6 separate regions of the Homo sapiens genome follow, and regions 2, 3, 4, 5 and 6 are each linked to region 1. Evidence: promoter capture Hi-C in 16 types of primary human blood cells and fetal thymus (Javierre and others, 2016). All regions are on one chromosome and are shown on one strand. Each heading gives the region's core, a stretch centred on a gene start or on the middle of the fragment in contact. The rest is flanking DNA. Distances are from core to core; before and after follow the strand shown. Region 1 holds the start of LIPE (lipase E, hormone sensitive type). Region 2 overlaps LNROP (long non-coding regulator of POU2F2). Region 3 overlaps POU2F2 (POU class 2 homeobox 2). Region 4 overlaps POU2F2-AS2 (POU2F2 antisense RNA 2). Region 5 holds the start of GRIK5 (glutamate ionotropic receptor kainate type subunit 5). Region 6 overlaps POU2F2 (POU class 2 homeobox 2).

Evidence for each region. Contacts are between HindIII fragments. The CHiCAGO score rates a contact against its expected background, and 5 or more counts as called.
Region 2: a fragment that was not itself captured here is called in contact with the fragment with the promoter of LIPE in region 1 in 11 of 17 cell types (naive CD8 T cells, neutrophils, naive CD4 T cells and 8 more); the score reaches 10.6 in naive CD8 T cells.
Region 3: a fragment that was not itself captured here is called in contact with the fragment with the promoter of LIPE in region 1 in 14 of 17 cell types (naive CD8 T cells, total CD4 T cells, naive CD4 T cells and 11 more); the score reaches 18.3 in naive CD8 T cells.
Region 4: a contact is called between a fragment that was not itself captured here and the fragment with the promoter of LIPE in region 1, in 1 of 17 cell types (neutrophils). The highest score is 6.0, in neutrophils.
Region 5: a contact is called between the fragment with the promoter of GRIK5 here and the fragment with the promoter of LIPE in region 1, in 3 of 17 cell types (neutrophils, fetal thymus and naive CD8 T cells). The highest score is 6.1, in neutrophils.
Region 6: a contact is called between a fragment that was not itself captured here and the fragment with the promoter of LIPE in region 1, in 9 of 17 cell types (fetal thymus, erythroblasts, total CD4 T cells and 6 more). The highest score is 10.7, in fetal thymus.

What each region holds. Positions count from the first base shown.
Region 1 is chr19:42,425,357-42,428,672 of GRCh38, reverse strand. It overlaps LIPE (lipase E, hormone sensitive type), which reads left to right and starts at 1,285. Exons shown (of 10, transcript NM_005357.4): 1 at 1,285-2,406. The coding sequence starts at 1,524. CXCL17 (C-X-C motif chemokine ligand 17) reads left to right here. Exons shown (of 4, transcript NM_198477.3): 4 at 1-395. All of the region lies in intron 1 of LIPE-AS1 (LIPE antisense RNA 1), which reads right to left. The HindIII fragment of the contact is 12,356 bases long and covers 1-3,316 here.
Region 2 is chr19:42,133,429-42,137,081 of GRCh38, reverse strand. It overlaps LNROP (long non-coding regulator of POU2F2), which reads right to left. Exons shown (of 3, transcript NR_038332.1): 3 at 1-410. MIR4323 (microRNA 4323) reads left to right here and starts at 3,569; the gene lies at 3,569-3,637. It also overlaps a transcript of POU2F2 not described here. RefSeq lists an enhancer at 3,365-3,414. The HindIII fragment of the contact is 1,520 bases long and covers 1,408-2,927 here.
Region 3 is chr19:42,104,292-42,107,891 of GRCh38, reverse strand. The region is part of intron 5 of POU2F2 (POU class 2 homeobox 2); the gene reads left to right. Among named protein-coding and RNA genes, the nearest start is that of POU2F2, 26 kb to the left of the region's middle. The HindIII fragment of the contact is 5,797 bases long and covers 1-3,600 here.
Region 4 is chr19:42,153,376-42,156,688 of GRCh38, reverse strand. POU2F2-AS2 (POU2F2 antisense RNA 2) reads right to left here. Exons shown (of 2, transcript NR_186341.1): 2 at 1-982. It also overlaps a transcript of POU2F2 not described here. Among named protein-coding and RNA genes, the nearest start is that of POU2F2-AS2, 2.5 kb to the right of the region's middle. RefSeq lists an enhancer at 1,167-1,695. The HindIII fragment of the contact is 3,776 bases long and covers 1-3,313 here.
Region 5 is chr19:42,068,745-42,072,219 of GRCh38, reverse strand. GRIK5 (glutamate ionotropic receptor kainate type subunit 5) reads left to right here and starts at 2,014. Exons shown (of 20, transcript NM_002088.5): 1 at 2,014-2,979. It also overlaps a transcript of ZNF574 not described here. The HindIII fragment of the contact is 24,593 bases long and covers 1-3,475 here.
Region 6 is chr19:42,087,223-42,090,849 of GRCh38, reverse strand. It overlaps POU2F2 (POU class 2 homeobox 2), which reads left to right. Exons shown (of 15, transcript NM_001394376.1): 15 at 1-3,627. Among named protein-coding and RNA genes, the nearest start is that of ZNF574, 13 kb to the right of the region's middle. The HindIII fragment of the contact is 1,199 bases long and covers 1,433-2,631 here.

The sequences.
Region 1 (3,316 bases), core at 36-2,535:
CCCTTACCCAGGCTTAGGCTTAATTACCTGAAAGATTCCAGGAAACTGTAGCTTCCTAGCTAGTGTCATTTAACCTTAAATGCAATCAGGAAAGTAGCAAACAGAAGTCAATAAATATTTTTAAATGTCACAGATCAAAATTGTTTCCTTCAAATGGGGTCTGCCAATTCACAACCAGATGACCCATTTTACCCTATTCACTGCAGACTGAATCCAGATTCTACACATACTTATCCCCACCAAGACCCTCACTCTGTCTCCATTGGCCTACTTGTTCATCTTTCACTCATTCGACAAATCTTTCTGAGGTAAGAGCGAGGTGGGACAAAAAAAAAAAAGCATACCAATGAACCAGACACGGTCTTATTAAAGATAATATAGGTTTAAAAAAAAAACTTGGCACAGTTTCTTAGCACTTAGGCAGCCTTTGGTATTTATGACTACTATCATCACCATTACCACCATCATTATCAGTCATTGTCATCAGTGGTCACTGTCTTCTGTGAGTTTCCAATCTAGTACAGGATCATAGTTCAGGGCTAGAGAGATGGCATGGAGTATCTCAAATGCCATTCAGAAGGGCCTCAAGCTATAAAAGTGGGAAGGCATGACATTAGTTTTTAACATGAGAGTTAAATGATCAGAATGACAATATAAGGAAATTAAACTAGCAACCTGGCTGGGCGTGGTGGCTCACACCTGTAAACCCAGCACTTTGGGAGGCCCGGGGGCGGGGGGTGGGGGTGGATCACTTAAGGTCAGGAGTTTGAGACCAGCCTGGCCAACATGGCAAAACCCCATCTCTACTAAAAATATAAAAATTAGCCGGGCGTGGCAGTGCACGCCTGTAGTCCCAGCTACTTGGGAGGCTGAGGCAGGAGAGTCGCTTGAACCCAGGAGGTGGAGGCTTCAGTGAGCCAAAATGGTACCACTGCACTCCAGCCTGGGCAACAGAGAAAGACTTGTCTCAATAAGTAAATAAATAAATAATCTGGCAACCATTTGTAGGAATGAACAAAGAGGGAAATAATTATTACAACAACTACAGAGACTGCCCCCTGAATGACGCTTTCCTCAGACATTAGAAGGAAAGAGAAAAAAGGAACACTCATCCAGCATCTGGCTTCTGTCATCCCAGATGACACGGAGGCCTAAATTGGGATGCTTGCCTTATGAGAAGAAACATTTTAACGGAGTGGTGGGTGGGGTGGGGCCCTATTTATGACACAAGAGAGCAAGCCCCTCCCTTCTTGTAAGAGAGTGCTAGGCACATAGCCTCCTCCTATTCCTAATCCTCCCACCAAAGAAAGAGGCACAGAGTTCATTACTTAGTGGGGGCCAGCTGTGATCGGCCAACTGCCAGCTGCCTTAAAAAGGAAGACCAGTGATGCTAGGATGGAGTGAAACCCAAGAGGAAGTGCCATCATGAGGAATCAATGAGAGATCTGTGAAGAGAGAGGGCTGGGTGGGAGCCCAGAAGGATAGAACCTGGAAGATCAATATCTCCCGTGAGGGAAATAACAATGGAGCCAGGTTCTAAGTCAGTGTCTAGGTCAGACTGGCAACCTGAACCACACCAGAGGCCTATAACCCCGCTAGAGCCTGGGCCAGAAAAGACACCCATAGCCCAGCCAGAATCGAAGACTCTGCAGGGATCCAATACCCAACAGAAGCCTGCTTCAAACCAAAGACCCCTCACCCAGCAGGAGACCCCTGCACAACATGATGCTGAATCCCAGAAGGAACCTAGAGCCCAACAAAAATCTGCTTCACAAGAGGAATTTCTTGCCCCACAGAAGCCCGCACCACAGCAATCACCTTACATCCAAAGGGTGCTGCTCACTCAACAGGAAGCTGCCTCCCAGCAGGGACCTGGGCTAGGAAAAGAATCTATAACTCAACAGGAGCCAGCATTGAGACAAAGACATGTAGCCCAGCCAGGGCCTGGGCCAGGAGAGCCACCTCCAGCTCAACAAGAAGCTGAATCAACACCTGCGGCCCAGGCTAAACCTGGAGCCAAAAGGGAGCCATCTGCCCCGACTGAATCTACGTCCCAAGAGACACCTGAACAGTCAGACAAGCAAACAACGCCAGTCCAGGGAGCCAAATCCAAGCAGGGATCTTTGACAGAGCTGGGATTTCTAACAAAACTTCAGGAACTATCCATACAGCGATCAGCCCTAGAGTGGAAGGCACTTTCTGAGTGGGTCACAGATTCTGAGTCAGAATCAGATGTGGGATCATCTTCAGACACAGATTCTCCAGCCACGATGGGTGGAATGGTGGCCCAGGGAGTGAAGCTAGGCTTCAAAGGAAAATCTGGTTATAAAGTGATGTCAGGATACAGTGGGACGTCGCCACATGAGAAAACCAGTGCTCGGAATCACAGACACTACCAGGATACAGGTGAGTGTGAATCTGGAGGAATTGAAGCCTCTCAGGGACAGTCATTCATTTACTTAAAAAATACTAAAAACTTACGGTGTATCAGGTTAGCTCTGGTCATCCTTCAACAATCCTGAGATAAAGATCAACATCCCCATTATTAAAAAAAAAAAAAAAAAAAAAAAAGGCTGGGCGCAGTGGCTCACACCTGTAATCCCAGCACTTTGGGAGGCCGAGGCAGATGGATTGCTTGAGGCCAGGAGTTCAAGACCAGCCTAGCCAAGATGGTGAAACACCGTCTCTACTAAAAATACAAAAATTAGCCAGGCGTGGTGGCAGGTGCCTGTAATCCCAGCTACTCGGGAGGCTGAGGCAGAGAAACACTTGAACCCGGGAGGCAAAGGTTGCAATGAGCTGAGATCGTGCCACTGCACTCCAGCCTGGGTGACAGAGTAAGACTCCATCTCAAAAAAAGAAAAAAACAAAGTCTCACTCTGTCGCCCAGGCTGGGGTGCACTGGTATGATCATGGCTCACTGCAGCCTCAAACTCCTGGGCTCAAGCGATCCTCATACCTCAGCCTCCGGAGTAGGTGGGACTACAAGTGCACCACCATGCCCCGCTAATTTTTACATTTTCCGTAGAGACGTGGCCTCGCTATGTTGCCCAGGCTGGTCTCGAACTCCTGGCCCCAAGCAAGCCTCCCACCTCAGCTTCCCAAAGTGCTGAGATTACAGGCATGAGCCACCGAGCACCTGGCCAACATCCTCATTTTAGAAATGAGGACATCAGGTAGAAAATAAAGAAGTAAGGGTTCTTGCACAGGGCCATGCAGTTAGGAAGTGGCAAAGTCAGGATTTGAAGCCGGGGTCTTTCTCCCCTGGACCAGGCTGCCTCCCTATAGAGGATTTGGGGAAAATCAAATCCCAGAG
Region 2 (3,653 bases), core at 918-3,417, 290 kb after region 1:
TATTGGATATTTATTAAGTGATAAATTACCAAGGTATTTTTATCCACTCCAGTCTTCCTCTCAGACTGTTAGCTCCTTGAGGTCAGATTTTAGATCTAGCTCACCTCTGGGTCCTCAGCTCCCAGCACAGGGCTTGGCACTGAGGGACATGAGGAAATGTTTGAATTGAAGGAAATGGGGAAGGGTTGGCCCACCTTCAGCCAGGAGCTGATGGGATCAGGAGTCCAGTGCATTGCCGAATATCAAGAAACTGACTCGAAGGCTGTGGGCGTTGGACTGTGAGCTGCAGAGGTATTCCAGCATTGCTGACTGGACAAGGAGTGGCTGGCTGTTGCTGTTGTCTCCTGAAGGATGGGGAGCATTTCACGCCTCCAAGAAGGAGCTCCATGGCTCAGTACAGAGAGATCAAGCTGTCAGGGGGACAGACCTGGGCTTAAATCCTGACTCCACCACTCATGCTGTGTGACTTGGGGCAGGAGACTTCACCTTTCTGAGGCTCAATTTGTTAGTAAAATGAGGATGATAGCAGACCTTTACCTCCTCAGACTGTCATGAGGACTTAGAAATAATATATTGGTTCAAATAGCACAGAGTAGTCCAGGCACAGTGGCTCACGACTGTAATCTCAGCACTTTGGGAGGCTGAGGCGGGTGGATGGCTTTGAGCCTAGGAGTTCTGAGACCAGCCTGGGCAACATGGCAAAACCCATGTCTCTACTAAAAATACAAAACTAGCTGGATGTGGTGGTGCACGCCTGTGGTCCCAGCTATCTGGGAGGCTGAGGTGGGAGGATGGCATGAGCCTGGGAGGCAGAGTTTGCAGTGAGCCAAGATCATGCCACTGCACTCCAGCCTGAGTGACAGAGCCAGACAGTCTCAAAAAAAAAAAAAAAAAAGGAAAGCATAGACCACAATGCTGTGGGGGCTGCTGCTGCTAATGAAGACAAAGAGGAAGATATATTTTAAGTCCCTGAATGCTGGATACTCCTAAGCAGAACTTGACTTTGACTTAGGGCTGCTGGAGAAGCAAAGGGGCACTTCGGGTCTAGAGGGCAAAGCAGGTGTGTAAACAGGAAATAGGCTTGAGGTCATGTCTGTAATCCCAGCACTTTGGGAGGCTGAGGTGTGTGGATCACATGATCTCAGGAGTTCGAGACCAGTTTGGCCAATGTGGTGAAACCCTGTCTCTCCTAAAAACACAAAAATTAGCCTGGCCTGGTGGTGTGCACCTGTAATCCCGGCTACTCGGGAGGCTGAGGAGGCGTGAGATGCGCTTGAACCCAGGAGGCGGAGGTTGCAGTGAGCCGGGATTGTGCCATTGCACTCCAGCCTGAGCGACAGAGTGAGACTCTGTCTCAAAGGAAAAAAAAAAAAAAAGAGCCTGGACTTTAAAAATAAAGCTAAAGCTTAATTTAATTTTTTTTAAAAGGGGAAATAGGCTTGAGCCTAGAAGCCAGGAAAGTGGGCAAGAGTGGCAAGCAGTGTCTCGGGTGGGCCAGAGCTGAGGCTGGGCATGGTTTGAGGGTCTCTGAGGCCCACTGGGGGACCACATGGCCCTGCAGCAGGAGCAGACACACATCTCTTTGTGTATGTGTTTGTCTGCCACCCCTATCATCCTGTTTTCCTGCCACCCCTATCATCCTGTTTTCCTGCTTGTTTGGGTCCCTAGGTTAGCTTTCCCTAACCCCCCAGAGGCTGCCCCTGGCCTGGGCGCTGCTGAAGCCCCGTGTGCTTAGATGCAGCAAGGGGACTGGGCAGAGGGAGGTGGGTATCATTGAGTCTTGGGCCCAAGTTCATCTCCTGGCCCAGCCATGGACTCAGAGTATGGCCTGAGGCTTGGTCTCCCTGTCTCCTGCCAAGCTAGGGGTCTGAGGAGCCTCTCTGAGCTCCCACATGCCACAGCCCTACAGATGAGGGCAGTGCCTATGGGGAAAGAACCCTTGGGTTCCCTCACAGAGCAAGGATGATGCTGGGGGCTGAGTAGAGAGATCACCAAAGCAGCAGACATTCAGAGAGAGGCTGGGGAACTGAGCCACAGAGAGGGTCCCCAGGGGTGGCCAAGAGGAAGAGGCCATGGCTGGGGGGCCCTGAGGGGTGAAGAATCTCGCTCTGCTGTCCCCGGTGGGCTGGCTGCTCCCCCCCACCACTCCCCGCCGGGCCCCCGGGGGACCTCGCTCTAATAATGTATTTGATCGACTCGCCGGCCGCGTACAAGCGATTATTGTCTTGTCGGGAGTCAAACGTATCGATCCGGCGAGAAATATGAGCGGAGCAATGGGGCCCGCGTGTCAGTTACCAGCCCCGCTGGCCCTGGGGAGCCCCCTACGTCTCCTTTAATTACCGCTCAGCCCTGAGCCCAGCCTGGCCTCCCCTGTACCGCCTCCCTCCCAGCTCCCTGCACCTCAAGTGGCCCCCACTGCTCCCTAGCTCCCATGCCCTACCTGCCTCCCTCAGCATGGCTCGAGGCCTCTTCTGTGGCAACGAGGCCACCATCTCCCCCTGCCTTGAGCCTCCCTGTTCCAGCTGCCAGTGTGTTCCAAACTCTGCCCCTCTATCCTCTCTCAGGCAGGCCCATCCTCCTTCAAGATCCCCTCACCAGGCCCAGCTCTGGTCTGAGGCACTGAGAATGGAGCCAGCATGGGAGGCGAGAGGTGTGGGGTTGTTTCATCTCTCAGGGAGCGTATACAGCCTTCCCCGGCTCCAGGACTGAACTGCAGACCTGGCCGCACTGGAAGTGGGTGGTCCTTCTCTGCTGGCTCTAGGGGGCTGGAATGGGGTCACATCCAAAAGCGTGTTCCTGACGTGGATGATGTTGAGTCTGTCCAGGGTGGAGCATAAGGGTGGCTGGTGAGGTTTTGCCCCCCCCCATAATGTCCTATAGCCCCATTTCCAAGCCCCCCAAAACAAATCCTAACTGAAAACAAAGCTTACTGCGTAAATGTCGCTTTGAGACAAGGCTCCAGTGTCCACTGCTACCAGGCTGCTGTCGGGAAGACCCTCATGTATAGAAATCCTGTGGCCAGTTGCTGTGTGGTCTGTGGATCTCCTCTGTGAAATGGCCTTTACGATACGGGATGTTGTGGAGTGTAGATGCCGGGAAACGGTCACCTCTCGTGTGCATATATGAGAACTGCCAGTCCTTCCTGTTGTGCCCACCTGCTTGCCTGGGTGTGTCTGGGTGCACAGGGCACGTGTGCAGTCAGGGGAGGGCACTCCTGTAGTTGTGCCTGTAGTATACCCTTTCTGAGTGTGCCTGTGTGTGAGTGGGTGCGAGTGGCCAGGAAGTATGCTTGGGCACATATGTGTAGAAGTGCCCTTGTGCCCATGGGTCCATGTGAGGGAGTAGAGGAGGTATCAGTATATGGGAGTGACCATCGTCAGCAGGGAGGGCTGGTGTTGGGGCCTGTGCACATAGATGTGTTCATGCACGTGTGTGTGCACACGTGTGTGTGTGTGAAGTGCTGGGGTTCATCTGTAGAAATACTTGTGTGTGTGAGGGTGAGTCCAGGCGTCTGTGCATGCACCTGTGGTTTAGGGGGCCCCCCAGCCACGGGGCGCAGGATGTCCTGCGGGGCCCAGGCGGGCATGTGGGGTGTCTGGAGACGCCAGGCAGCCCCACAGCCTCAGACCTCGGGCACCAAGAGGAAGAGGGCA
Region 3 (3,600 bases), core at 694-3,193, 320 kb after region 1:
TGAGGCAAGGAAGGAGAGGTAAGCGGGGGTGGTGGGCAGGCCATGCAGGACCATAGCCTGGATCTGGATTATACCACAAATGTGATGAAAATCAGTAGAGGCCTTATGGCTTAATTTATATTTTAAAACAGGGACTTGGACTCCATAGACCACCCCTAGAAGAGTCTGTGCATAGAATTCAGAGTCCATGAACTTGGATGGGAAAAAAATTACATCTCAATTTTTACTATCTTCTGACCAAACCATAGCATGTCCCTCTATCATGAATATAGACAACAGACAACAGTAGTATTAGCGGTACTGAGACTTTGTCACCAAGAGAATGTACGCAGATTTTCAAATTCTCTTATAGTTGTTGCAGATCTCTCAAAACACTGTTTTCACTCATGATTGCTTTGAAATTACAGTAGTCATCAGATCTATTGCTGGATCTTGTTACTTAGTGTGCTAATAAAGAAACCCATAAATGATTTTATGACCACTCAAAATATGTTTGATGCCTATATTTTTTTAAATTTTAATTAATTAATTTTTTTTGAGACGGAGTCTCACTCTGTTGCTCGAGCTGGAGTGCAGTGGTGTGATCTCAGCTCACTGCAACCTCTGCCTCCTGGGTTCAAGTGATTCTCCTTCCTCAGCCTCCCATGTAGCTGCAACTACAGGCGCCCGCCACCACACCTGGCTAATTTTTTTTCTGTATTTTTTTGGTAGAGATGGGGTTCCACCATGTTGGCCAGGCTGGTCTCAAACTCCTGAACTCAAGTGATTCGCCCGCCTTGGCCTTCCAAAATGCTGGGATTACAGGCATGAGCCACCGCACCCAGCCAAATTTTAATTAATTTATTTTATTTTATTTTGTTTTTTGGAGACGGGTGTCTCCCTTTGTTGCCTAGGCTGCAGTGCCATGGTGTGATCATAGCTTACTGCCACCTCAAACTCCTGGGTTCAAGGGATCCTCCCACCTCAGCATCCTGAGTAGCTGGGACCACAGGCATGCACCACCATGCCTGGCTAATTTTCCTTCTCCTCCTTCTCCTTCTCCTTCTCCTCCTGCTCCTCCTCCTCCTCCTTCTCCTCCTCCTCCTCTTCCTCCTCCTCCTCCTCTTCCTCCTTCTCCTCTTCCTCCTTCTTGTTTTTTTCTTTTTGTAGAGACAGGGTCTTGCCATCTTGCCCAGGCTGGTCTCAAACTCCTGGGCTCAAAAGATTCTCACATCTAGCCTCCCAAAGTGCTGGGATTATAGGCATGAGCCACTGTGCCCAGCCAGTTTTTATTTTAGATTCAGGGATACATGTGTAGGTATGTTACAAGGGTTATATTGCATGGATGCTGAGGTTTGGGGTATAATTGTTCCTGTCACCCAGTAGTGAACACAGTACCCAGTAGGAAGTTTTTCAGCCTTTGCCCTTCTCCCTCCCTTTGGAGTCCCTAGTGATGATGACTATAATTATGTGATTGATTTCATTTGAAATTCTATATATCTGGCTGGACATGGTGGCTCACACCTGTGACCCCAGCACTTTGAGAGGACGAGGTGGGTGGATCATCTGAGGTCGGGAGTTTGAGACCAGCCTAGCCAACATGGTGAAACCCCTTCTCTACTAAAAATACAAAAATTAGCTGGGCATGGGCATGGTGGGTGCACCTGTAGCCTCAGCTACTTGGAAGTCTGAGGCAGGATAATTGCTTGAACCCGGGAGGCAGAGGTTGCAGTGAGCCAAGCAAGACTGAGCCACTGTACTCCAGCCAGGGTGACAGAGGGAGACTCCATCTCATCTCAAAAAAGAAAGAAAGAGAGAGAGAGAAGGGAAAGAAAGAAAAGAAAGAAAAAGAAAGAAAGAAGAAAGAAAGAAAGAAAGAAAGAAAGAAAGAAAGAAAGAAAGAAAGAAAGAAAAAAGAAAGATCCTATATATCATATGTTATGTGTTTTTAATTCTGAGAAGAGGGCAATAGGTTTTTTTTTTTTTCAGATGCTGAAGAATTCAGGGCACAAAAACATTTAGACCTCTATTGTTTTAGACCCCTCTCTGCCTGCCTGGGGGCGAATGGATGGTCTGGGGTAGAAGGATGGTGGTTTGGACCAGGACAGTCACTGTGGACAGGAAGAGATGTAGAGGGAACTGGGAAGACTTGCATTGCAGATGGATTGGATGGATGGGGAGAGGAAGGGAAGGTGGGATTAAGGCTGACCCCTAAGTCTCTGGTCTGAGAAACTAGACAGGGATGTGATTAAATGTTTCCCATCTGAACTTCTCACCATGAGACCTTCTGCAAACTGGGATGCACTTTCCCCATTCTTTCCTCTCGCTGGTGATTCAGAACGAAACCCACAGACACCTCTCTAGGCTTCTGGAGGAAAGGGGAATTTTCATTGAGAGTCATGCTAGGGAGGAACAGGAGTTAACAAATACTTTAATCAACAAGCTAAGGGTTATAGGAAATCAGAAAAATGCTGGTAATAAGACTTGATTTCTAGTCTTATTCATTAGATTCAATTCAGTGGGCATTTAATGGGGGCTTACCAGGTTCCGATATGAGTTAGGGATATACGAAGAATAAGATATGCCTCTGGTCTGCTAGAGTCAGTCTGGCAGAGGAAAAGTACACATAAGCAAATGCATTGACTTGGGAGACGTGTAGCACAGGGCAGGTGGGTCTCGTTTTGTGGGGCCAAAAGATTATGCAACTTGGAGTCCCTTTGAAAGAAAAAGACAATGTTTGAAACAAAAATTAGGTATGGGGCCTTGAAAGGGTTCACTGTAAATGGGGGGCCCTGAAGCATAAGTGTTGCCCGCTTCACAGTTGATCCACATCTGGAGGGAGGTGACCATGGAGGTGTTACTGGGCTGGGGGTAGCTGGGAAAGGGAAGGCAGGGTGGACATTGTTTCACAGGATAGAGTGCTAGGACTTCAGAACCCTTAAGCTGGATTCTGAGATGATTAGCAGCAAGAGTTAGAGAGGTCAGGAGCACAGGAGTACCCAGTCCACTGCCATACACGGAATAAGCAGAGGCACCCCCAGGGGGTCAGGGAATAGTGTTCAGCTGTCGAAAAGCAGGGATGTTGATCAGCAGTGACTGTTTGGGTGGGTGGGGGTGAGACACTGGGATATTTATTTACTCAGACCAGGTACATGTTTCAAATCCCAGAGGTATGAATGGATTTACAGCGTGGCCTTCTGGTATGGTTTTCCAGACATCAACTATGCATACCCAAGCAAATATCCAGATATACTCTTTTTTTGTGTGTGACACAAACAGTACCACCTCATACCCTCTGTTCTGCCTCTTGAGCTTTCCACTCAACAGGACATCCTGCAGATTGTTCCATGTCAGGACACAAAGAGACTCCTCATTCTTGCTGGTGACTGCATAGTATTCCACTGTAGAGCTCTGCCCTCATTCATCCAACCCATCCTGTCTTGCTGCATGCTCAGCTACCTTCTACTCTTTTGCCAGAATGCCACTTGCTGCTGGGAATAGCCTTCTAGAGAGGTCATTTTGCACCTCTCTAGAAGGCCATTCCCAGCCTTCTAGAGTGAGAATAGATAAATTTTTAGCAGTAGAATGGCTGAGTTGAAGGCTGTGTGCAGTTGTAATTTT
Region 4 (3,313 bases), core at 428-2,927, 270 kb after region 1:
TGGTGTCAGGGACTTGTCCACATGCCCCAGGCCCAGTCTGCCTCCTTCTGAATTACACCCCTGGGGGCTTTGGCTAGTGGAATAGGGTGTGTGCTATTCCAGATGTGGCTTGAAGGATGGCTGGGCTGGGACAGAGCTTTAGTGTAGAGGCAGCTCTGGGATGCTGGTGGGCTATGGCCGTGTGGTGGGACCTATAGGGTGGTCTGTAACTGGCAGCTGTGTGATCTGGGTGGTGGGCAGGGGCACTCCTCGCTGGATGTGGAGTCCAGATGTGAGGGTCTGTTTAGCATTCTGGGGTGCTGGGAGGTGGCAAGAGATTGCTTGATCCTTTTGGCTGCCTGTGCTCTGTCACTGGGTGGGTGGAGACAGCTGTGGACTGGGAATATTTGTCAGCCATGGGGTGGGGATTATAGATGTGTAGGAGGTAAAAATGGCTTGCATCTCTGAGCCAGTTCGGGGACCAGTGGGTCCCTGGAATCCCTGACAGTCCCACAGCAAATGAAGGTCAAGTACCCACCATCCTGGTAAGCATGGAGCCCCAGGTGCCGAGAGCAGGCACTCGGCTCTGACTTCAAATAGAGAGACGTTCCTCAGGGCTCTTCGAAGCACTGGTGAGGGCTGGTAGGCAGAGAGAAGGCCTCAGAGAACGGCCCTGGGTGTTTTCAGCTGCGCTTGTTAGAAATCTTGATGCGCGCCCCACCCCCACCCCGTGGTTGTTGGGCTCACGCTGCCCTGCCAGGTCTCTGCCCCTGGCTTTCCTTCCTTTCCTCTTCCTCTCCCTTTGGCTCCAGCCCCAGCATCATCTTTCTTCCTTTTCTTAGTCTTCATTATGTGTCTTGGCCTCTCCATTCCTCCCTGGTCAGCTCCTTTTTTTCTGAGCTGGATCTCTGTGTTGAGTGTTGCCTGTGGGTTGAGTCTTAGCTTTTGTCTCCAGAGAGAGCCACACTGAGATCTGGAGGCTGGGGAGATCCAGAGATCCGGCCTGGGGTGGGTGTGAGGTGGGGTAGGAAAGAGAGGAGGATAAAAGGTGATTGAGGGAAAAACAAGAAAGGAAGTATTCACCCACTCCTAGCACTCCAGGACAGCTTCTGAGGTCCTTTACACAGTGATCCACCCTTGCTTTTCTCAAACTTTCAAGCAATCCTCCTGCCTCAGTCTCCTATGTAGCTGGGACTACAGGCTAGGACCACTGTGCCCAACCTTGCTTTTCTTGGGGACGAGGTGGATAGGAGGGCCAGAGGGATTGTCTAAGAAAGGGGAATCCAGAATACACCAGATGGGAGTGGAGGGAGAGGGAGACCCAGGGAGCATGCACCTCATGACAGAAACACAGAGAGGGGAACAGAGCAACGGAGAGGAGCAAAGAGGAAGAGGAAACAGCAGAAAAGTCAGAGGCAGGAAAGCAGAGTGAGGGACTCAGAGACAGAAAGGAACAGAGAGAAAGAGAGGGCGCGTGCATGCGAGCTGAGCGCATGAGAGTGCATCAGAGAAAGATGAAGGCAGCCGGGCTGAAGGCAGGGGACAATGAGAAAGAAAAAACAGTGCGGGGCAGCTGCAGCTGAGGCAGGTGGGCAGGACTGTGGGGCAGGAAGGAAGGACCTCACACCTGGCCCCCCACCCCCCAGGCTGGCCATGCCTGGCAGAGTACGAGGAAATTGGCCAAGGCCCTGGTGTGTGTGGACTGTGTGTGGAGGGTGAGGTGGCGGTGTGTGGTAAGGAGGGATGTACTGCTCTCCCTACCCATGTGATCAGGTCCCAGTCGGCTCTGGCTGGTCCCTGAAGCTACCTGAGATCATCCCTGTCCATTCACCCTGTCCCCTCCCCACCGTGGCTCACAGGGGCCCAGAGGAACGTGGAAAAAGGCTTGAGCATCCCTGACTTCTGGCCTGGGGAATGGGGAGAAAGGTGTGTGTGTGTGTGTGTGTGAGAGACATCACTTTGGACGTGATCCCCTTTCAGTTTCTCTCTAGCTTTGCCATCTCAGAGTCTCTAGTGGGTTACCAACTCCCCTCCACCACTATCTGCCGTCTGCCTTTTATCTCTCTGGTCTCCTTTCTCTCTCACTCTCACTCAGCCTTTCTGTTCCTCTCTGTGCATTGCCCCCTTTCTAGTTCTCCCTGCCTCTGGCCCCCGTTCTCTCTTTATCTGCGTCTTCTCTCTGTGTGGCTCCATCACTGGGTTTTCTGCTCTGTTGTGTGCTCTTTCTCTGTTTCTCTCTCCGTCTCTCCAGTCACTGTCTCTGCGTCTCTCTCTGTCGTGCTCTCTGCATTTGCCCTTCCTCTGCTCTTTTTCTCTGCCTTTGCCTCCTGGTTTTGGTGTCTGTGTCCCTTCCAGTCTCTTTCATCTTCTGTCTCTGCTTCTCTGTGCATCTCTCTGCGTGTGCCTCTGTCTCTCACTCTGCCGTTCTCTTTCTCTTGTCGTCTCTCGGGGTCTCTGGCTGTCCATCCCTGCCTCTGTTTGTGTCTCTCTCGCTCCCCCTCCCTGTCCCCCCCTTTTTTTCCTGTTTCTAACACCCACACTCACATCCTACCTCTGGAGTAATTGCTTTTGTCTGGGTTGGACTGGACTTGTGGTGGGGGGAGGGCGGGGGGAGCGGGTGGCGCTGGGGGGGTTGGGAGGGACGGAGGTCGCTTGGTGGAGTTGAGGTGGCATCCACCAAAGCAGGGGTGTTGAGGAGCAGAGGTACAGCCTGCCCAAGGTGCCGGGGGAGGGACGGGGGCCTGGGCCCATCCTGGCAGGGGTCTGGGGTCTCTGGCAGGGAAGGGAAAGAAGGCAGGCAGGCCCTGACATTGGGATTTGGAGATGATGTAGTGATAAAACCGGCTAGCCAGTGTCTCCGTGGCAGCCCCTGCTGCCTCGCCACCCTCCCCCACTCAGAGACTCAGGGTTGTAGCCTCTACACACATACACCGTGCCGTCTACACCAAGTCACCATGACACACACAGGGACACACCCAGAGCCTCCAGCCCACTTGTGGAAACACACTCGACCATCGGCACACAGGGACACACAGCATCACATAGACACACAGAGAAACCGCATGGACTCTCCGACACTCATGAGGAGAACCTGCTTCCAGTACACATAGAGACCACCGCGCAGATCCCTGAAGCACACGCAGCTGCCCACAGGCACAGGCACAGATCCACACGGGACCCATGGAGGCTCACGCACAGCAGCATCCGTGCTCAGACACACTCTGTCAGGGGCATGCGCACGCCAACACACACAGGCTTCCCAGAGCACATGGGAACACATAGCTACCCCATTAACTGGGGACAGAGGAGATCCCTGAGGTGTTCCTGGGATACA
Region 5 (3,475 bases), core at 765-3,264, 360 kb after region 1:
AAAATTTGAGGATCCAGGTAACTTCTCAGGCCTTTTGCTTGGACTTCTCAACTTGATTTGGGTGGTGCAGGTCTCTTTTCTCCAGATCATATAGGAATAAGCTGAGGATAAGCTGAGGTCTTTCTGGAGGTGGTAGTGCAGGACTGGCTGGGATTTCCGGGACAGGTTGAATTTAGAGGGGATGGTGGTTGGTTTTTGTTTTTTGTTTTTTTTTTGGAGATGGAGTCTCGCTTTGTCTCCCATGCTGGAGTGCAGTGGCATGATCATGGCTCACAGCAACCTCTGCCTCCTAGGTTCAAGCAATTCTTGTGCCTCAGCCTCCCAAGTAGCTGGGACTAAAGGAGTGTGCCACCGGGCCTGGCTAATTTTTGTATTTTTAGTAGTGACGGGGTTTTGCCATGTTGGCCAGGCTGGTCTTGAACTCCCAACCTCAGGTGGTCCACCTGCCCCGGCCTTCCAAAGTGCTGGGGTTACAGGAATGAGCCACCGCCCTGGTCGAAAGGATGGTGTTCTGTGTTGAGGTCCTTCATAAGCAAAGTCCCAGAGGCAGGTGTGAATCTGGGCTTTTAGGCCTGACTGGAGTTAAGTGTGGATGTTTGAGGGGGCGGTGTAGATGTTGACCAAGTGGGGTAAGGAGGTGTGTGCAAAGTTGGTGGTCCTTCAGCGTCAGATATATGTGTCAGATGTGTGTCCAGGATGCCCCACATGCCAGCTTGCAGAGGGCTTCCTGTGCTGGGCTGGCATGTGGTCCAGGAGTTGCCATGTGCCAGCTGTGTGTTCGAGGCATGCGGTCACATATGCTGTGGGCCGCACGTGAGTGTGTCAGTGTCTCCTCCCCATCACGAGCATCGGGGGTGGTGGTGAGTCACGGGCTCAGCCTTCGGCGCCAACTGTCATGTTTCTTCCCCCCAAATTTCACCCCCCACCCAGCCATGCACCACCCACCCCCACTCCAAGATCTGTGTCGCTTCTCTCTTCCATCCCCCTGTCCTGCTCAGCTCCTTCTGAGAGGCTGCAGGGTGTTCCCTGGGAAGGAGTCTCCCACTTCTGGCTCTGCCCTCCAGCTTCCTCTCCTTGTCCCATCCACCTTTCCCACTGCCTCTCTGCTCCTGTGACTAGAGAATGAGGGCCCCTTCTCTCCACCCACTCATCTCTGTGGGTCCCAAGGATTTCTCTGTGCACTATAGGGAATTCTCATACTCACCACCCATCCCCTCACCTCTATAGGAGCTATTTATATTGGGGGAGGCTTGCCCCGCATCTCCAGGCTGGCAGCTCCTGCCTCAGTGGCTCTCTTGTGTCTATGAGCCACATCCTTGTCTTTTTGGTACCCTGGTGTCTGTAGGCCTCCCTTGTTTCTGTGACCTTCTTCGGCTCTCCTTGGCTCTCTCCCTGCCCTGTGGACCGCTCCCCATATCTGAGGAGTGCTTTCTGTTTCCAGGGGCCTCTCTCTTGTGTCTCTGGCTTCTCCCGTTTTCCTTCGCGGGAGGTCTCTATGTCCACATTACTGCCCCTTGTCTCCGAGGTCCTTTTGCTTGTCTCTGTAGGCTGCTCCCTTGTCTCCATGGGCCTTTCTTTCTTATCCCTGGGCTTTTCCTGTCCTTGTCCTTGTGGGGTTTGTGGGCCTCAGCCCACTTCTCTGGACAGTCTTGACGGCTGTCTCTCTTCTCTTCATTTCTCTTCATCTCTGTAGCCCTCTCCCCTCATCTCAGTGGCCTTCTCCCTGGGTCTTCTTGCCTCTCATCTCTGTGGGCTCCTGTGCCCAGGGCTGCCTGGGCAGGGCGGTGGCATGGTGTGGTAGAGGGGGTGGCTCGGGGGTGGGCCTTCCATCCAATGCAGCTCCTTCTTCTCATCAGCATTCTCCTCGCGGGGGGCCCCCAGCCCCAACCAATACAGGCTCCCCCTCCCCCGACTCACCTCCCTACTCTCTCTTTGCCTGCCTCCCTCCCTTCCTCCTGCCCGCCCTCCTCCCTGCCTCCCTCCCTCCCTCTTCTCTCTCTCCTGAACCACCCCACTGCGCTCCAGGACCCAGCGCAGGCGGCAGGCGGGCAGGCAGGCGGCGGCCTCGGAGGGGAGACTGAGCGGTGGCGGCAGCCAGCGGCAGGGAGGCAGGCCCAGCCGGGGACTGGAGCCGGGGACTGGAGCCGGCTCCTCACAGGGGACCAGGAGTGTGTCGCCAGGCCCTCCCACTGAGGCCCAGCACCGGGAGCCCCTGGGACACCCCACCCTCCTCCGCCTTTCTCTTCCACCTGCTCCTCTCCATCCTCCTCTCCCTCCTCCCTATCTCTCCACCTCATTTGCCCCCTTCTTGGCCTCTCCGGGTCTCCCAGCTCTCCATCCTCCCCAGCTCTCCACTCCCGGGCTCTCCCCGCCCCCAGCATGCTTTTCCCGTGGGGGCTGAGGGCTTGAGGACTCCGGGCCCTTGCCTCAACCAGGGCAGGGCCCAGGCTCCAGGGGGGAGGGGGAAAGGGGGCGGCCCCCTCCCCCAGCAGGCCCTCCCCTCCCCCACTTCTCCTGATGGCCGGCTTCCTTTTCTCCACCCAGTCCTCGCCCCCTGTGGCCCCCCCAGGCCGGCCCGGCTAGGGGAGGGGGCGGGGGCCCTTTCCTGGGCCAGCTTCCCCCTCCCCCGGCTTTGCCTGTGCCCCCCCCTTCCGTTTTCACCTTCCTCTCCTCCTTTCCTCCCTCCTTCCCCTCCATTTGCTCCTTCCCCCTCTCCTCTCTCCCCTTCTCTCCTCCATTTTCTCCTTTCCCCTTCCTCCCCTCCCCGGCCCGCCCTCTCCTCTTCCACCTGTCCTTCCTCCCTGCTCCTGTGGAGCCACCGTTTTGGATTAGTTGGGAGCCACCACCGGCGGCGGGGGAGGGGGCCCTGTGGACTGCCCTCTCCCCCCGCCCAGCCCCACCACCACCCAGCGCCAGAGCACCTCCCGCTGTCGGTCTTCGGGCCTCGAGGGAGCCCAGCCCTCCGTCCCACCAGGATCCGTGAGTGTCTGCAGGGCAGGGATTGGGCTGGGTTCTGGGTCCTGGAAGGCTGGGCTCTGGTGCCGCCTGGCAGGGGGGCACCACATTCTCCCCGTTCTCCGGACTGGCAAGTACCCTCCCCCACTAGGGGCCTGCTCTGCGCCCTCCATCTCCTCAGCGTCCATTCACCTCGACCTCTTCTCACCTCTTCTTCTGGGTACATAGCTCACTGCCGCCCCTGGCCCTCTAGCTTTCTGGGGTCCTACGGGGCTGATTGCTCTTACTTGGGCTCTCACTTACCCCGGGCCCCTGGCATGTCCGTGCCCCTGCTGTCTCCAAGCCTCCGTCCTGGTCCCAGACTGGCTCTTTCTGTTCCTCTGAGCCTCATCCTCTGCCTGCGGTGGGCCTTGGCCCTGTCCCCACCCCGTCCAGTCTCTATCTCCTGGATATGTCTTTCCGCTTTTGAGCCCCCATTTCCTGTGTCTCTTGGGCCCCTCTCTGACTCTGCCCAACTTCT
Region 6 (3,627 bases), core at 783-3,282, 340 kb after region 1:
CCTCATGCCACCGAGCCCTGGCTGTGGGACCAACCCCCAACCCTGCCTCCCCCGTGGGGGCTACAGAAGGAAAAAGAGAAGATGCCAGCTTCCTAATCCCAGCCCCCAGCCCTGGGCCAGCGAAGACAGGGCACAGCCTGGGCAGATGGGCTGGGGCTTAGCACCACCCACCAAATGTTCTTTTCCAGAAGGTGAAAGAGAAAGGGCCTGAACAACCTTACACCAAATATTCAGTAGCTTCATCCAAAGGATGTACAGAATTTTTAGCATTGTGCTCAACAGAATGTGTCCCTACCATGTGTCCCCTTCTCCCCTGGCCCCCAGCTCTCCCCACCTGGGCAGGGGGTCTTGCTTTAACCTCCTCCCTCCCCCCAGCAGGGGAGAGTTCAAGGGAAGGCCTGCGGACAACTTTTCATCCCCTGTTCCTCCCTCTTTTCCCCTTTGAAGGGTGGGCTAGGCCATTTTGCCAAGTTCTAGCTCTCACAAGTCCCTCCTCAACCCTGTCACCCTCCTCTGCTCTGGAACTGACTCCCTCCCCAGCCTATGGGAAGGTGGAAATTTCAGGCAAGAGGGGATGAAGACATTCAGTTGAGGGCATTCAGTTGTCTTTTTCCATCCTGTCTGTTTCCCTGAAAAAAAAAAAAATTCATATTCCAGTGCCTATCCGTGGGATCCTTCACGTTCTTTGACATTAACCAGAAACCAAAAAGAGAACTCACCTCGCTTTTCCCACCCTGTGCCCCTCTGGTACTGGCGAATGCCTCTCCCTCCCCCCACATGCACGCACGCACACACCCCAGTGGTGGGGTTCCTCGAGATGGCATCCCCATCAGGGTCCATGTGGTGGGGACAGTGCCACAGCCTGTGGTCCCCATCTGAGAGGGCGCGGTGGTGGCCACCACTCCCACAAGACCTCCACAACTCTTGGCTGGACCCTGTGTTTGACCAGCCCCGGACACGTCTCCACTGACGACGGACAGAGGAGAGACACCACTGGGAGCCACCCTGCCCTCCTGCTATTGTGGAGGCCAACAAAGTTTTGAACCGAAAACCAAAAAAACAGAAACAAACAAACAATAAATTTAAACTAGAAAAAAAATTTATATATATATATAAACATATATATATATATATATATAAAAGGGAAAGAAGATGAGGACTCTTCAAGAATAAGATGGAACCGCGAGGCGGAGCCAAGCCCCTGCACCGGTGGTCCAGGCCCTTGTTCCCCAAGGCGGATGGAAGGACGGATGCTTCTTTCTCTTCACAAATACCTCATGGACGTTGTCTTTGGGAAAGCCGGAGGGGGCGGCTGGGGCAGGGCCTGTCCCTCGGCCAGGGCAGATGGAAGCGGGTGGGCGGGGCTGAGAGAGGGTATCAGGGACAGGGGTGAAGAGCCCCAAACTCCCCTCCCAAATCAACTGAAAAAGCTTTAAAAAAAGACAGGAAAAAAAGGAGTAAGAAAGCAAAAAGAACAGATGAAGGAAAACTTAACAACTTTTGGGTGGTTTGATTCCTCCTTTGATTTCTTTTTCGGTTCTCTTTTGTCTGACCTCTCTCCTCCCCTCCTTCCTCTCTCCTCCCCTCCTTCCTCTCTCCTCTCCTCCTTCCTGTCTCCTCTCTCTCCCTTTGCTCTCCTCTCTTCTCTCTCAATCTTGTTCTTTCTGTGTCTCTCCTCAAACCAAAGTGTTGCAGTGAAGGACACGAGCCATTGAAATCAGGGTGGGGCCTGACAGCCGTAGTGTGGCCCCTGCCCCTTGTTGGGCAGGAGCAGAGAGAGAGGAGAGCCCTGAGACCGCAGGGCTTTGGCCTGGGCAGCTTCCACTTTCTGCCGGACACTCTGAGGAGAGGCAGATGGAGCTCCAGGCCTCAGCGTTCTCTTTTTTCCTTGTCTCCCTTCTCCCACCCGGGAAATGAAACTGTTGGGCTGGGCGACGGAGGCAGCAGAGACTCGGCCATTGCAGGGGCCTCTGGGTGCCTTGTCCGGGCAGTGGTGAAGTAGCCGCCCCTCCCACCCCGGCACGATGGGGCCTGGCACCTCGTCTACCCAACCTCACCGGAATGTAAGCATCTCCGCTGAACGACTCCCTGCCCTTACCCTACCTCTGAGTTTGTCCATGTTTATTTCCTGAAGAGAGAAGGGACTGGCAAGAGGGCTTGGGCCCCAGCCCAAGGGTGGAGAGGGGGCCAAGGGCTCCTGACCAAATAGGAAGGACATTTGAGCAGAGCAAAATGAAAGGAATTACAACCAAAAACCCCCTCCGAGAAGACAGGCAGCATGGAAGGCATGGTGGAGATGACTCAAACAAAAACTATGATTCTAGACCAAAAAGGAAAAAAAAAAAAAAAAAAGGAAAGAAAATCCAGGACTCACCACCACCCACTTCATCCTGCTTCCTCCCCATCAAGTCCCACCACCTGGGACCTCTCCCCACCCCAGTATGTGGGAGTGGGGTAAAGAGGAGAGGAGGAGCAGGGGGCAGGGATGGGGCAGATGCCCTGATGTTGGTGGAGGGACCCCTGTGCAGCCGGGGGTGCTGGGGACCCTCCCCATCCAACCCTCACACCTAGGAAAAGAAAAACAAGAAAAAAAAATTCCTGGGAGGGGGAAAAATAACCAAATCCCAAGCTTTAACTACAGCTGTGAAACCAAATATTGGGAAGGGGGTAGGAGGGAGGGAGGGGCAGGTGAGCCCCAGGTCTCCCCCTGGGCCCCCCTCCCCTGAGGACTCGAGATAAGGCACCAAATACCTCATAGAACTTTAATGTTAAAAAAAGGAAACCAAATATCGTTGGCTGGGGGCCAGCCAGGGCAAGGGGCTGGGGGGCTGGAGGGAGCCAGGGTTGGGAAGGTGATGGGGGAATTCATGCCCCCCACCCCCATCTGCCCCTTACACTCTGGTCCCCCGTCTCGACTCCGGGAAACAAAACTATCTCATCGTTTTTATTTTGTGGTCTGTACAGAGCCTGTGTCCGTGTGTCTGTGTATGAGCGAGAGAGTTGGAGGGCTGGGGAGCTTTATGTGGGGGATGGGGAGGGCAACCCCAGGCTAGGCTATGGGCTAGGTTAGATGTCCGAGGTTGGGGGCCAAGGGCCTGGGCTAGAAAGAGAGGAGAGATGAGTGGGTTGGAGCAGTGGGGAGCCCTCTGAATTTCTCTTCTCCCCAACCCTGACCTCCTACTTAAGGGAGGGACAGAGACTGGGTCTACCCTAATGGTGGGCCTTTTCATTGTGCCAAAAAAAAAAAAAAAAAAATTGATGCCAGTAACTAAACCACCTCTCTCTGTTCTCTTCTGGGGGGTGGGGTGGGTGTGTGTGTGGGGGTGGGTAGGGATGGGGAACCCAAGCCCCAGTAGGAGTTGGGGCTGAGATCAGGAGGAGGGGAAGGATATGAGTTTTCCATCCATCTCCCTGGAGAAGGCCATGACGGGCTCTCCAAGCCCTGGGGAGATCTGGCGAGGGACTAGCCAAGTCAGGGTGACCTCTTGACCTGACTAGTTTTTCTAACCCACATGAACACCAGGGTGCCTCTCTCTTCCTCTAGCCCAGGGTAGGGGGACCTGAGTGAGAGAGAGAGTGAGACAGACAGCAAGATTGAGACACGCGGGCCCCCACTGGTCTCTGAGT